2 separate regions of the Homo sapiens genome follow, and region 2 is linked to region 1. The links are contacts of gene promoters, found by promoter capture Hi-C in blood cells and fetal thymus (Javierre and others, 2016). All regions are on one chromosome and are shown on one strand. The core of a region is centred on a gene start or on the middle of the fragment in contact, and the rest is flanking DNA. Distances in the headings are between cores, read along the strand shown.

Region 1 (5,969 bases), core at 2,495-4,994:
TTGTGGGGGACGTGCACTTGAGAAGCAGCAGTGAGAGCCTGCAGGGCATCCTGGCCTGACGCGCATGCACACGGCTCCTTCAGCAGGGGCAAGCCTCTCCCAACCTGCTCCTTCTGGAGTCTTGTACCTGGAGCCTGGTGTCTTGGGAAATATATTTGGCCGCTCAAGGAACAAACTCTCCACACCCACAGTGAGGCTCAGGCAGGGTTCTGGCCCAGAGGGACCAGCCGCAGGCCCTCTCCTGACAAGTCCACGCGCGACCCCAGTGCCTCTCCTGGAACTGGCCCCGCACTGGGCTGGGTGCTGAGGGTGCAGGGCCAGAGCTCCGGGCATTCCTGCAGCCCCCACCCCTGCCCGCCCTGATGCCTCAAAGGAGGCTGTGGCCAAACCAGCCCCTCTGCCAAGGCTTAGGGAACAGCGTTCTCATCACAAAAGTCATAAAGCTAGACACTGAGCAGTCTCCCTCTTAAATCCTTCCCGTCATCTGGGCAGAGGCCAATAGTCCTCCCGGGCCACAGGCCCTACCCAGTTGGCCCATGCTGGCCTCCTGTCTCTCCCTTGAACACACCACGCCCACTCCCACCTCAGGGCCTTTGGGCCTGGCCAGCCGCCTAGAATGCCCTTTCCCTACTTGGCCTCCAGGCCCCTGCCCTGGGCCCTCTGGTTGAGGGGGGGTCCTATCTGTACTTGGCTCAGCATCCCCAAACCTCTCACTCCAGGTGGCTCAGTGTCATTTTGGCCCCTACCTTTGTCCCAGCTCCTGCAGCTGACCCCAGGACACAGAGCTCAGCAGTCCTCTTGACTGAAGCCCCTGGCCAGGTCCCCTGCCCACCTTGCCCATGCCAACCTCCCTGACCCACCTGACTCTGAGACCCCTGGCCCTGGGTGCCAATCCTGGCTCTGCCTGTCTGGCCTGGTTTTCTCACAAATGCACAGGCCCTCAATCAATCTCGAGGAATTACCAATGCCACAGGGTCATAGGGTACCCCAACTAGGCACTCCCCCTCATACCAATAAACAAATCAATATAGTTTACATGTCCTTCAACTGTCTTGTGGTAGCATAATTATCTGCATTGTTTTATGGGCACATTGAGAGTTAATTTGTTATCTATAAACATTTCAAAGCCATCTTTGTTTTTAAACCTTATTCCAGCCCTTCTTCATTTTAAAATTTACTCTGGAGCAAAAAAAGAACGAGAGAGCGTGTGCACACCTAAGTGTAATGGTGGGGGTCACTGTTTATAGCAGCACACTTTCTGAAACAAGCTAATCACCCATATGAACAGAGAATTGGTTAATAAATTATGATACAGCCATACTGAAAGATTACTATTCTACTCAAAAGCACAAAAAGTATAAGGGAATTCTTGATGTATTGATAAGGAACAGTCTCTACAATGTATGGGTTAATTAAAAAAATCAAGGTGCAGACAGGGTTTTCATTGTGTGATCTCCGTGTAAGAAAAGAACAAACCTCATCTACACACATTTGCCTGTATGTGCACTGAGCTGGTAGCCTAGAAGAGACAGGGGACAGTGGCCATCTCTAAGGAAGGGGCACTGTATGCCTTTGACAGGGTGGGAGAGGCTTTTCACAATGAGGGGCTTTTAACACACTTTTGAATTTTGAACCATGGAATACTATGCCTGGTCAAAACCAAATTAAATTCCAATAAAAAAGCTGAAGGGCCCCAGGTAGGCCTGGGCAGCCTCCCTCAGCGTCGCCCTGTGTGAGATCTTGGCAAATGCATGCAATTCCACTAGGGCAGGCATGTTTCATCCAGGGCCTAGCGCCAGCTGACCACCTCCTTGGAGCCCAGCCTGGCATTTGTGGTCAGAGGGGTGCTGAGAGAAGCTCACCTTCACGGTGACACCTTCCTCATGGTCTGTTGTGGGTTGAACTGTGTCATCCCAATTCGTATGTTGAAGTCCCAACCCCTACTGTCTCAGAATGTGATCTTGTTTGGAAATAAGGTCTTTGCAGCTGTAATTCACTAAGCTGAGGCCATTCTGGAGCGGGGTAGGCCTCCAATCCAATGTGATGGGGTCCCTGTAAAATGGGGAAATTTGGACACAGACACACACAGGCAGAATTCCACATGGGCAGGAAGGCTGAGATGGGAGTGATGCTTCTACAAGCCAAAGAGCACCAAGGATTGCCTGCAAAGCTCTGGAAACCAGGAGAGAGGCCCGGAATGGGTTCTCGCTCAGAGCCCTTGGAGGGACCTAGCCTTTTGGACAACTTGATCTCAGACATCCAGCCCCCAGAGCTTGAGAAAACAAATGTCTGTGACTCCAGCCCCCCAGTTTGTGGTGGTGCTTTGTTACAGCAGCTGCAGGCAATCCATATGCCTTGTTTCAAGGGAAGTAGGCAGATCTATGACTCCTGCCTAGTGTTTGGTTTAGAGCTACCTTAACCTGTGAGGGAGCTGGACAGGCTCCGAAGCTGCCCCTGACCTCTGAGAGTGCCCACCCTGGCCCGGTACTTACTGTCATTGGTCATGTTCTTGGAGACTATAGTGGACGGTATCTCAGACATCTTGGCTGAGGCCCAAGAGGTTGATGCAAGGCTTCTCCTCTTCTAAAGGAGATCCTCACCTGAGGAGTGACACAGTGCTTGAGCCTGGTGGTCCCCAAGCCCAGAGCTTCCTTCCCCCTGGGTGGCTGACAGCCACCGACATTTGCTGAGGGCTCACCTTGTGGGGACACCTGCCGGCTCCCTGCCTCTCCCACCCGAGGGTCCACTCTCACCTCCTGGACTTGGCTCTAGCTGCCTACTTTTTCTGTGCTTAGAACACATCAATCTTGGCCTCAAGCCTTTGCATTTTCGGCCTCCTCGGCCAAAAAATATTCTCCCATACCCAGCTGGGGGTGCTGGGCTTCCTTCTCTTCAATTCCGAGCTCAAATGTCACCTCTTTAGAGAGACCTCTCACCATCCCATCCAAAGTGGTTTCTTCCTCCCCACCCCCATGTGGCCTTTATTTTCTTCTCTGCAATTCCCACTATCTGATTATCACTTTAAAAATCCATTCGTTGTCTATTTCCCCCTAAAATGTGAGCTCCATGAGAACAGGGGGGTCTTTTCTGCTCATCCAAGCTCCTGACATACCCTTGGCACTTCTTAACTTCATCCATTGAATGAATTTTCATTTTTGCAGGGGAGGAAGCAGAGATTCAGCGAGGTGTCCAAAGTCACAGTCAGGAGGGGCTGCCTCTGGAAAGGGCCCCCACTCTAAGCTTGTGCCATTCCTGCCGCATTCCTGCTGCAGCCCCCTATTGGGTGAGCCTGGGGTTCGCAGGGTCGCCTCCTAACACCCGCGCTCTGCAAGGCCCCGAGCCACACAGCGAGGTGCACAGGGATGGTAGGACAGATGGGGTGGATGGTAGATGGGTGTGTTTCAAGCAAGTGGCATGCGAGCGGGCAGCCTTGGAAGGCGCCTTGCAAGTCCGCTCCCGGCCACGCGCGCCCCTCGGGCCCTGGTTTCGCACCCCTGCCGCCGCCCCCACGCGCCCTCACGGACCCCGCGCGCCCCCTCTCCCCGGACCGCGAGCGCACCCACCGACCCCGACTGCCCCGGCTCGCTCCGAAGCCTCCGCGCTGCAGTTCTCAGCTCCAGGAGCAGGGCTCTTGGGTTTACGTCTCCAAGGCAACCATTCTTCAGGCTGGCTGTGACGCCACAAAGGCCGCGGAGGCTGGGCGCTTGAGGGCTGGGCCTGCGGGCCGCGGGACAGGGAGGGCGCGGGGCCGGGCTGCTGGGTCCGAGCTCTGGGCACGATGTCCTCCCTGACGCCGCCAGGACAGCGCCTGGCCCAGGCCTGGGCCTGGTGAACGCGGGTTTCTTCCTCTGAGGTTCAACACTCCGCACTTGGGTTGGCTCCTTTCATCCTGATTGGTTTATTCGCCACGTGCCAAGCACTGAAGAGGGCGTGCAGGATGGATACTTTTGGAGCAAAAATAGCCCTGCTTCTTTCCTGGGGAGGGATCGCACTTTCTAGAGGGGCGGTTTTCAAAGTATGGTCTCAGGACTAGCAGCATCGAAAATGCTGGGAACTCGTTAGAAAAGCAAGTTTTCAATCCTCGCCCCAGAATCAGAAACTCGGGGTGGAGCCCAGCAATGTGTGTCCTGACAAGTCCACGCGCGACCCCAGTGCTGGCTAGGGTTGCAAAGCCACTGCTCTACGGAGCGAGCGAGATCCATCATAGTGGGACAAGCGAGAGGATGAGGCCATACAGACCAGGGCAAGTTTTGAGCGCGCAGATCCACCAGCTGCTTGAAGCCAGGGGCACCAGGATGTCTGGTCCCCCAGCTCAGGGATCCTGTCTCCCCACAAAAAGCAGCAGCAGAAGACCCCTCTTTGAGTTCTGAACATGTTCCTAGATTTTCCCAGTATCTATGGGGATTGAGAGATTGATAAAGGCTGCTTGGAGCTGAAAGCACAGTCAGTGACTCATCTTTTCAGGGACATTTAGGGGCTTCTGGGGGGACTCTGGAGCAGTCTGCAGCCCAGCAATGTAGTCCCAGTGAGGATCCCAGCTGTGCCAGGCTCTGCCTAAGGCCGGTGTAGTGGGTGGGAAGACCACATCCACAACAGGAACTCCATTGGAGCTGGGGGTGGGAGTGAGGAGGAGCTCCCAAGATGGAAGGAGCAGGGATCCCTGAATCTTCGCTGGTAGAATAGTGTCCCAACTTGCAATATCCACAGTGGGCTTTGCACAAGGGAGGAAGAATGTTGTATTGTGTTAAGCCACATATGTGATTTGTGCATGTGTGCATGTGCACATGTGTGCACATGTAGTGTGTGTGTGTGCATGTGTGCACGTGTGTGTTCGTTACAGCTGCTATTGTCAAATGTGCTGAAAGACAAGTTGTCCCTTTACCCTTAGGAGAGAGGCTCCTTACACTGACATTCAAAGTCCTCAATGACCCGGCCCCAGCCTACCTCTGCAGCCTTATCTCCCTACAAACCATCAAAGCAGAACAAAAACCTGTCCCTCCGATTTAGGTTTTAGCAAACCACAAGAAGCACTTCATAAACTGGTGACTCAAGTAGAAAAGTAAGTGTTTTTGTAATGGTTTATCTAAATACAAGGTGCTCTAATGAGACTTTTAGGAAGCTAGAACATAAGTGACCCAAAGAGAACAAAGGTACCCAGGCTCCTGCCCATTCATTGTCATCAACAGATCAGTTTATGAACAGTCGTGAATCTCCCCATGAACCTTACAGAGTGTTTTCTATGTGCCAGGTACTGTTCCACGCACTTGACACCAATCCACCCATTTCACCTGCATGATCACCCTGCCTTTGCATGAGTTGCCGGTGTGGACAGAGCAGGGACACAGTGAGACAGCGGATTCCAGCTTTGCTCTTACCTAGAACACACTGCCTCTCACCAGGAATCGTCCTTCCATTTTATGCAGTTATCCCAGACAATGATGCACAAGCTTTGGGAAAAAAACCCCACAAGTCCAAAGGTGTACTTCATAATAAAGGCAAGTTATCTGTCAGTTTGTGTGTTCTGGCCTTTGTTTTTGCTCTTGGTAGCTTACAAGGTTAGAAAGAAAACCACCTAGAAAACGTGACCTGATTTGGAACTTTTAGTCTTAGCCTAACAGGTCTAACTAGAAATACCATTTGCTGATTAAAAGCTAATTTTTAAAATCAGATGCATGATTGGTGGAGCAATGGTGGCTGGCTGGCTGTGTGGTGAATCGTAGTGGCCTGTGAGCTGTCCAGCCCAGGCAGTGGGCATGTGGATGTCTGCTTCAAAATCCTTCCAACATTTCTGTATGTTTGAAGCTTGAAAATGTTCATAATCAAACATTTTGGGAAAAGCTAACAATCTTCTTAAAGGAGAAATTCGTATTTCAGATTTCGTATTTTCCTCCTCAAAGAAGGTATATCAGTCTGGGCTCTCGGGAATAAACAACAGAAAGCAACTATAGCCACTTGGGGGAGAAAAGGAC
Region 2 (5,969 bases), core at 1,166-3,665, 260 kb after region 1:
TAAAAAAAAAAAAAAAATTTAAGCCAGGGAGAAAGGGGCCTTCTCTCCTTAGTTCCAGTTCAGACGTCTTAGGCAAGGACTTATGATGACTTTAGCTTATGACCTTAGAGTGAGAGGAAGGCCTGGAAGAGAGGTGCTGTGCCCCTGGAACCACAGGGCCTGGCGGGAAGGAGCAGTCACCCTCACAGAGGTGGAGTGATGTTCCTGGGAGAAGAGAGGGTGCGGCCAGATGAGCCGAGAACACAGGTGTCTTGGGGCCTGGCTCTTTCGCTGGGGTCCTGGGAACGTCTAGGGGTGCGAAGCCAAGTTATGGCGTGGTCCCAACGAAGCTCCTCACCTGGCAGGAGAGACCCTGCCTTGGCCTTGCGGTCAGAATGGCTTCTGTTTCTGTTATACTCCAGAGGCCAGAAAAGCCGGGGCAGCCCAGCAGCAGGAAACTAGAGAGAGGGGTTGCAAGAGCATGGTCTGCAAAACCGAATGGAGATTAGGGTTGGGGCAGGGAGGGCTGTGGGGGTCGGGCATGCCCAGCCTTTCATAGGTTCCAGTCCCCTTCGCAAGCCCCTCAATTCTAGAAAGGCACTGGCCACGCCAAGTGGTCCCTAGAGTTCCTGGAGGTCAGGAAGAGCTGTGAAACAAGCACGACAGGTGGCGGGAGAACCTCTGGCCTGGGCCCTGCGTGCGCGTTTGGTGGACCGCACAACCAACAGCGTGCGTGGGGTCCCTCCCTTGGCCTCTGCTGCCATCTGGTGGCTTGTATCATAACAGATTCTACTCACCCATAATGACAGTGAGGGGGGCACCCTGGGCAGCTGTAAGTGGACCCCTTCCTGTCCTATGCAAACTCTCAGGCCCCGTGAAGACCTGGGAGTGCCCATTACTGGTTCTGCCTCAGCTCAGCACAGCAGAGGCTGGGTCTAGGTGTCCCGGAGGGGGCAGTTCAGGAGCTCCCAGATAAATGGCTGCAGAGCACCCTGTCAGGGTGGCGGGACCACCGTGGGTGTTAGGGAACACGAAATTCACTGCAGGAATCAGACATTACACAATTGTGGAAGCTAGGAAGAAGGATCCAGAGGGAGAGTTAGACAAGGTTCCTAGGCAGTCCCCTGAACTCCTGGTAGACAGGATAGAACCTCCAGGGAGTAGGAGCAGCCGTATCCAGCTGCCAAGTGGGGCCACAAAGAGGAGCTCCTGGGAAAGACCGTGGGGGAGCTGCTGGCTCTGCCCAGATACCACTGTGGTCCACGGCTGAGAATCTGACGGTGGTCCAGGCTGCTGGTGGTCAGTAGGGCCGGCCGAGCCTGCTGGGCACCCCTGCATCTGCCCTGCAGACCTTCAGAGGGAGATGGCAGCAGCTTCACTTCTCCTGCACTGCTACCCTGGCACCCAGGGACTGGGCTCTGGGGAGCATGGGTGCCAGGGTGTGAATTCAGCAGCCTAACTGAATTAACAATAGAATAGTCCTGCAAGGCAGCCTCTCAGAGCTTCCCGAATAGTGCACTCGGGTGATGGATACTTTAGAAAGTGTGTCCTGGGAACTGGATTGATGACACAGCCATGTCACACACAGGTGGAATTATCTAGAAATGTGGGGGATTCAAAGGATTGGGGCTGATGAAGGAGAAGGATGTGAGCAGGGGAGGCATGGCACACCACAAGCTTTAGTGGGCTGCAGGTTGGGTAGGGTTGCAGGAGACGAGCAGTGAGACTGTCCCAAGGCTGCCGTGTGGGCTTCCATGTCCAGGTGACAACACACAGTGATGCAGTGGGAGCCTCTGGGTCTGAGGGCTGCCAAGGGCAGTAGCAGCTTTCACCTTATCACCCCAAGGCCCTGTTTTATCAATGGGCAACAACTGCTGGTTGAGGTTCCTCTGGGTATGCAAAGCAGCGGGCCCTAAGTGGCTAAAAACGTACCTGTTTGGGCTACTTTAAGCCTAACTGGGAGTGGGAAAATTTGAGTTTGGTGCCAGCAGGCTTTGGAGCAAATGGGTCTCATTTATATAACAAAGAGGCAGCTCCTGTCTTCGCAGCTGGGGAGCCTAGTCCTCTATCGGCCGCTAGGTGATGTTTTCACTATTTGCTGTACAAAATCGGTTTTTCTCAGGAACCGATTTACGCATGGGCTCTCCTTGCCCAGGGTGGCCTCGCTCAGTTGGTTTTATGCAGCAAACCTGAGCTGAGTGCTTCCCAGTGCTGTGCTGGAGCTGGGCGCTGCAGAGAGCAGGGAACCAGACAGCGCCCTGCCTCCTGCAGCCTGGATTCCAGTGGGCAGGCAAATCGTGATGAAATTATCATCTACCTGAATGTCTGTTACAAACTGTAGTGGTGGGGGAGTGAAGAAAGGCAGAGGAGGCTATCAGAGGATGTGACAGGGAGCTCTGATCAGTCAGAACATGGTTGGGGATTTGGGTCGGCTTCCCATTGAGTCCGTGTCTGAAACAAGTACAGAAGGCTAAGAGGAGAAACAGGAGTGTGGAAAGGGGGCCCAGACATGCAACACAGCCCCTAAAAGCCAAGGCAGGAGGCCTGACTGACCTGAGCACCTGGAAGAGGCCGATGTGAGGAGGAGGAGGGAGGCAGAGGAGCTGGGGTCTTGTGGCCCCAGAATGAAATGGAAATGGCCAGGAGCTGCTTGGCCAGGCACAGAGTTGCAGATGCATCCTGAGTGGCGTGGACAGCTGTCACGGGTCCTGGTGGGTGTAGGCAGGTGAGGACCGGAGCAGGCCTGGGGTGCGTGTGGGCTTCATGGTGCCTGGGTGCAGAGGGGAGCAGTGTGGGAAACGGCTGGCAGGCTTTGGTCCCACACTTGCCTCTGGGCCCGAGCTGCCCTGTCTCCAAGGCTGAGTTTGCTCTGGGCCTGTGGTCTCCACTTTCCCTGTCCACCCTCCCCCTAGGGGATGAGAGGGGCACCCTCATAACTCCCAGGCTGCCCACAGCTGCACATCCGTCAGAATCAAGGGAGGGCAACCCGACCTCGGCATGCTCAGGCTGAAGCCAGTCTGTGTAAACGCGTCAGCCCCCACGTTGCTCCCTAGTCAGCCCTTCTGTGATGGGGATGGGGCCACCTCTCCATCTCTGGAGATGCCAGGCTCAGGAGCATGCCCCCACCATCCTGGACTGAACAGTTGGTTTATTGGTGCTGGAAAGACAGATGGACTTTCTCCTGGTTCAAGCTTTCCGAAGACAGGAAGGGCAGCCTCTTGGGCCATGACCCCTTTGCTGTCTGCAGCAAGTGGGTGAATGCCTCTGCAGGATAATTTCGGAGGAATAGGATAAAGTAGTGGATCCACAAATACTTCAGGAAGGAAGCGAGGGAAGATCGAGGAAAGGAGAGAGGGACAGAGGGTGTCATCCTCACAGCTATCCGGTGGAGTAAACGGTGCTGGCCCATTGCATGGATCAGAAACGGAGGTCCGCACATCTGAGAGTGGCAGAACTGGGGTAGAGGGCAGGACCCCAGCTCCTTGAAGAAGGGCCTTGTGAGGGCAGATGAGGCCGTGCCAGGCCTGAGCCCACCTCCCGCTTCCCCTCACCCTGGTCAGGTTGGCAGATCTCATGGAGCAGCACCAGGAGGAGCTGGCCACCATTGAGGCCCTGGATGCGGGTGCCGTCTACACGCTGGCCCTGAAGACCCACGTGGGCATGTCCATCCAGACCTTCCGCTACTTTGCTGGCTGGTGTGACAAGATCCAGGTGGGGCCCAGGCTCCCACCCAGTGTGAGCACATGCAGACTGGCCCAGCCATATAGGAGAACTCCAAGGGCAGCACAGTCATCTGCATGCTGCGCAGCAAATGACCACAACTGGTGGCTTGGAATGACACCTGTTTATTAGCTTGTGGTCCTGCAGGTGGGAATTCCAGGCAGGCTGGGCTGGGTTCCATGCCAAGGTCTCACAAGGCCAAAGCTAAGGCGCTGGCTGGACTGGGCCTTATCTGGAGACTCTGGGACAGAACCTGCATCCAGACGAGTTCGGGTGTTGACAGAGTTCAGTTCCGTGTGGATGCAGGGCTGAGGCCGCAGGTCCTTCCTGGCTGCAGGTCCCTGCTCAGGGCACTGTATCTCCCAGCGGCAGCAGGTCACTCTCGGGCTTGGGATCCCTGTGACACTGTCTTCTGCCTGCTTTTCTGGGGGCTCCTGCAGTTATTCTGGGCTCATGGGCACTATGTCCCCACCTTAGGGTCAACAGGGACAGTCAACACCTCATAGGAGGGAGTGTCACCATATCTTCAGGCTCCCGCCATCAGTTGTGGAACTTGGGGGCCATTTGTAGAGGCTCCCTGGGGAGGTCCACCTCTGCAGGACTCATGGCGTCTCTGCCAGATCAGATCTGGGCTCCATGGTTCCTCCTCTCCACCAGGGCATGACAGCGACAAGGGAGGTGGGCTGCCTGGTGCCCGCCCCTACTCCGCAGCTGTGTAGCTTCTGGCTGCAGCTGGACCCCCCAAGGCCTGGGCCTTCTACATGTGCTCAACTGCTTAGAGCTGTGGGGAGGGGGACACCCGGCCCTGCCCCCACCCTCACCCTTTCTTGCTCGAATGTCAAAGCTAGAGGCTTTGCTGGTACCAGGACCAGCTTCCACCCAAGGGCTCTGCCTGCCAGGCTCAGAGTGGAGCAAACACCTTGCCCCTCTGGCTGCCCCCCTGCCTGTCTCTCAAGCCTCAGGTCACACCTAAGCTGGTCGCTTTGACTTCCTCCTGGAGACCCTGGTGGAGACTTGCTGCCTAGAGGGGAAGGGGTGTGGACCCTGGGCCCCTGGGTGACTGCCCCTGTTCCTCTTCCAGGGCTCCACCATCCCCATCAACCAGGCCAGACCCAACCGCAACCTGACCTTGACCAGGAAGGAGCCTGTTGGGTGAGTTCCTGCCCAGGGCGAGGTGCAGCCTCGCGGTGCTTTCCATGCAGTACACGGAACTGTAGCACAGCCTGCGGGAGCTCACAGCACCCTGTGCGTGCATTTATCAAACAGCCATCCATGTGCTTCTTGAGCACCTGCTCCATGCCAGGCATTGTTGTAAGGACTTGAGGACAATTGTATTTAATCTCCCAGTAACACTGGATCAGTCAGGTCCACGGTGGGAAACAAGAGTAAACCCAAAAAATGTCCAAAATGGGTATGGTGGTCAGTGTTCATAAAGATGAGGAACTCCTGCACAGCACTGAGGAACAGGAAATATAGAACAAAGGAGGAACAGGCAGAGGACGAGAGCTGCTCAGCAGGAGGAGTTCGGACCCCGCTGGATGCCAAGCATGTAGGCGCCGGGAAATGAACCTGGCGTGAGGCACCTCACCTCGCCACCCAGTGGCCCCAGGGCAGGAGTAGGGAGAAGGGCTTGGAACACAGCCACCGGGCTCTGGGTTTTCCCTGCTAGAGGAAACTGGGCAGTGACCTCTCGAGGCCATACATCCTGATTTGGCCCCAGTCCTGGTGAGTTACTCACACGCGTGCCTGAGGAGGCTTACCCAAGAGTGCATGGCCACTGTGCTAGGCCGGTGACAGCAAACACCAGAGCAGCAGGTGCTGGTGCAGCCCTGATCCATGATCTGCACTGAGGATGCGCCTGCAACTGGACCTAGAGAGCCCCAGCCCTGGGTCCACCCTCACTGCGCCTGCACGCGGTGCCACAGGAGAGCCTGGCCAGGGTGACCTGGGAGCAGGGCCCAGCTGGCATGAGCACCACAGTCATTCCCACCTGCTCTGTGCCCCTTGCAGGGTAGGGGACCTCACAGCTGTGGGCATGGCCAAAGGCCCCTCAGCTCCACCTGAATGTTGGAGTATTTGCAAGGAGAACGTGCTCCAATGTCCCTGTGTCACTGACAGCTCATGCAGATGAACAACCAACTCCTCAAGCACGGGCTGGAGGAGGCTCCTGTGGGAAAGTGGGCTGTGGACCCTTAGAGCCCCAGAGAGGAGCCAGGCTGCAGGTGGAGGCATCGCCTCCAGGGTCCCCACAGAGGACATCGGGCAAGGTC

What was found. Contacts are between HindIII fragments. The CHiCAGO score rates a contact against its expected background, and 5 or more counts as called.
Region 2: a fragment that was not itself captured here is called in contact with the fragment with the promoter of CFAP100-DT in region 1 in 8 of 17 cell types (megakaryocytes, monocytes, endothelial precursors and 5 more); the score reaches 16.5 in megakaryocytes.

The regions. Positions count from the first base shown.
Region 1 is chr3:126,392,573-126,398,541 of GRCh38, reverse strand. It overlaps CFAP100-DT (CFAP100 divergent transcript), which reads left to right and starts at 3,744. Exons shown (of 2, transcript NR_103789.1): 1 at 3,744-4,243; 2 at 5,249-5,510. It overlaps CFAP100 (cilia and flagella associated protein 100), which reads right to left and starts at 3,633. Exons shown (of 17, transcript NM_182628.3): 1 at 3,564-3,633; 2 at 2,493-2,600. The coding sequence starts at 2,541. RefSeq lists an enhancer at 228-737. The HindIII fragment of the contact is 2,207 bases long and covers 3,243-5,449 here.
Region 2 is chr3:126,129,105-126,135,073 of GRCh38, reverse strand. It overlaps ALDH1L1 (aldehyde dehydrogenase 1 family member L1), which reads left to right. Exons shown (of 23, transcript NM_012190.4): 13 at 3,540-3,690; 14 at 4,781-4,851. Among named protein-coding and RNA genes, the nearest start is that of ALDH1L1-AS1, 48 kb to the right of the region's middle. RefSeq lists a silencer at 742-821 and enhancers at 2,419-3,236, 5,368-5,969. The HindIII fragment of the contact is 1,514 bases long and covers 1,659-3,172 here.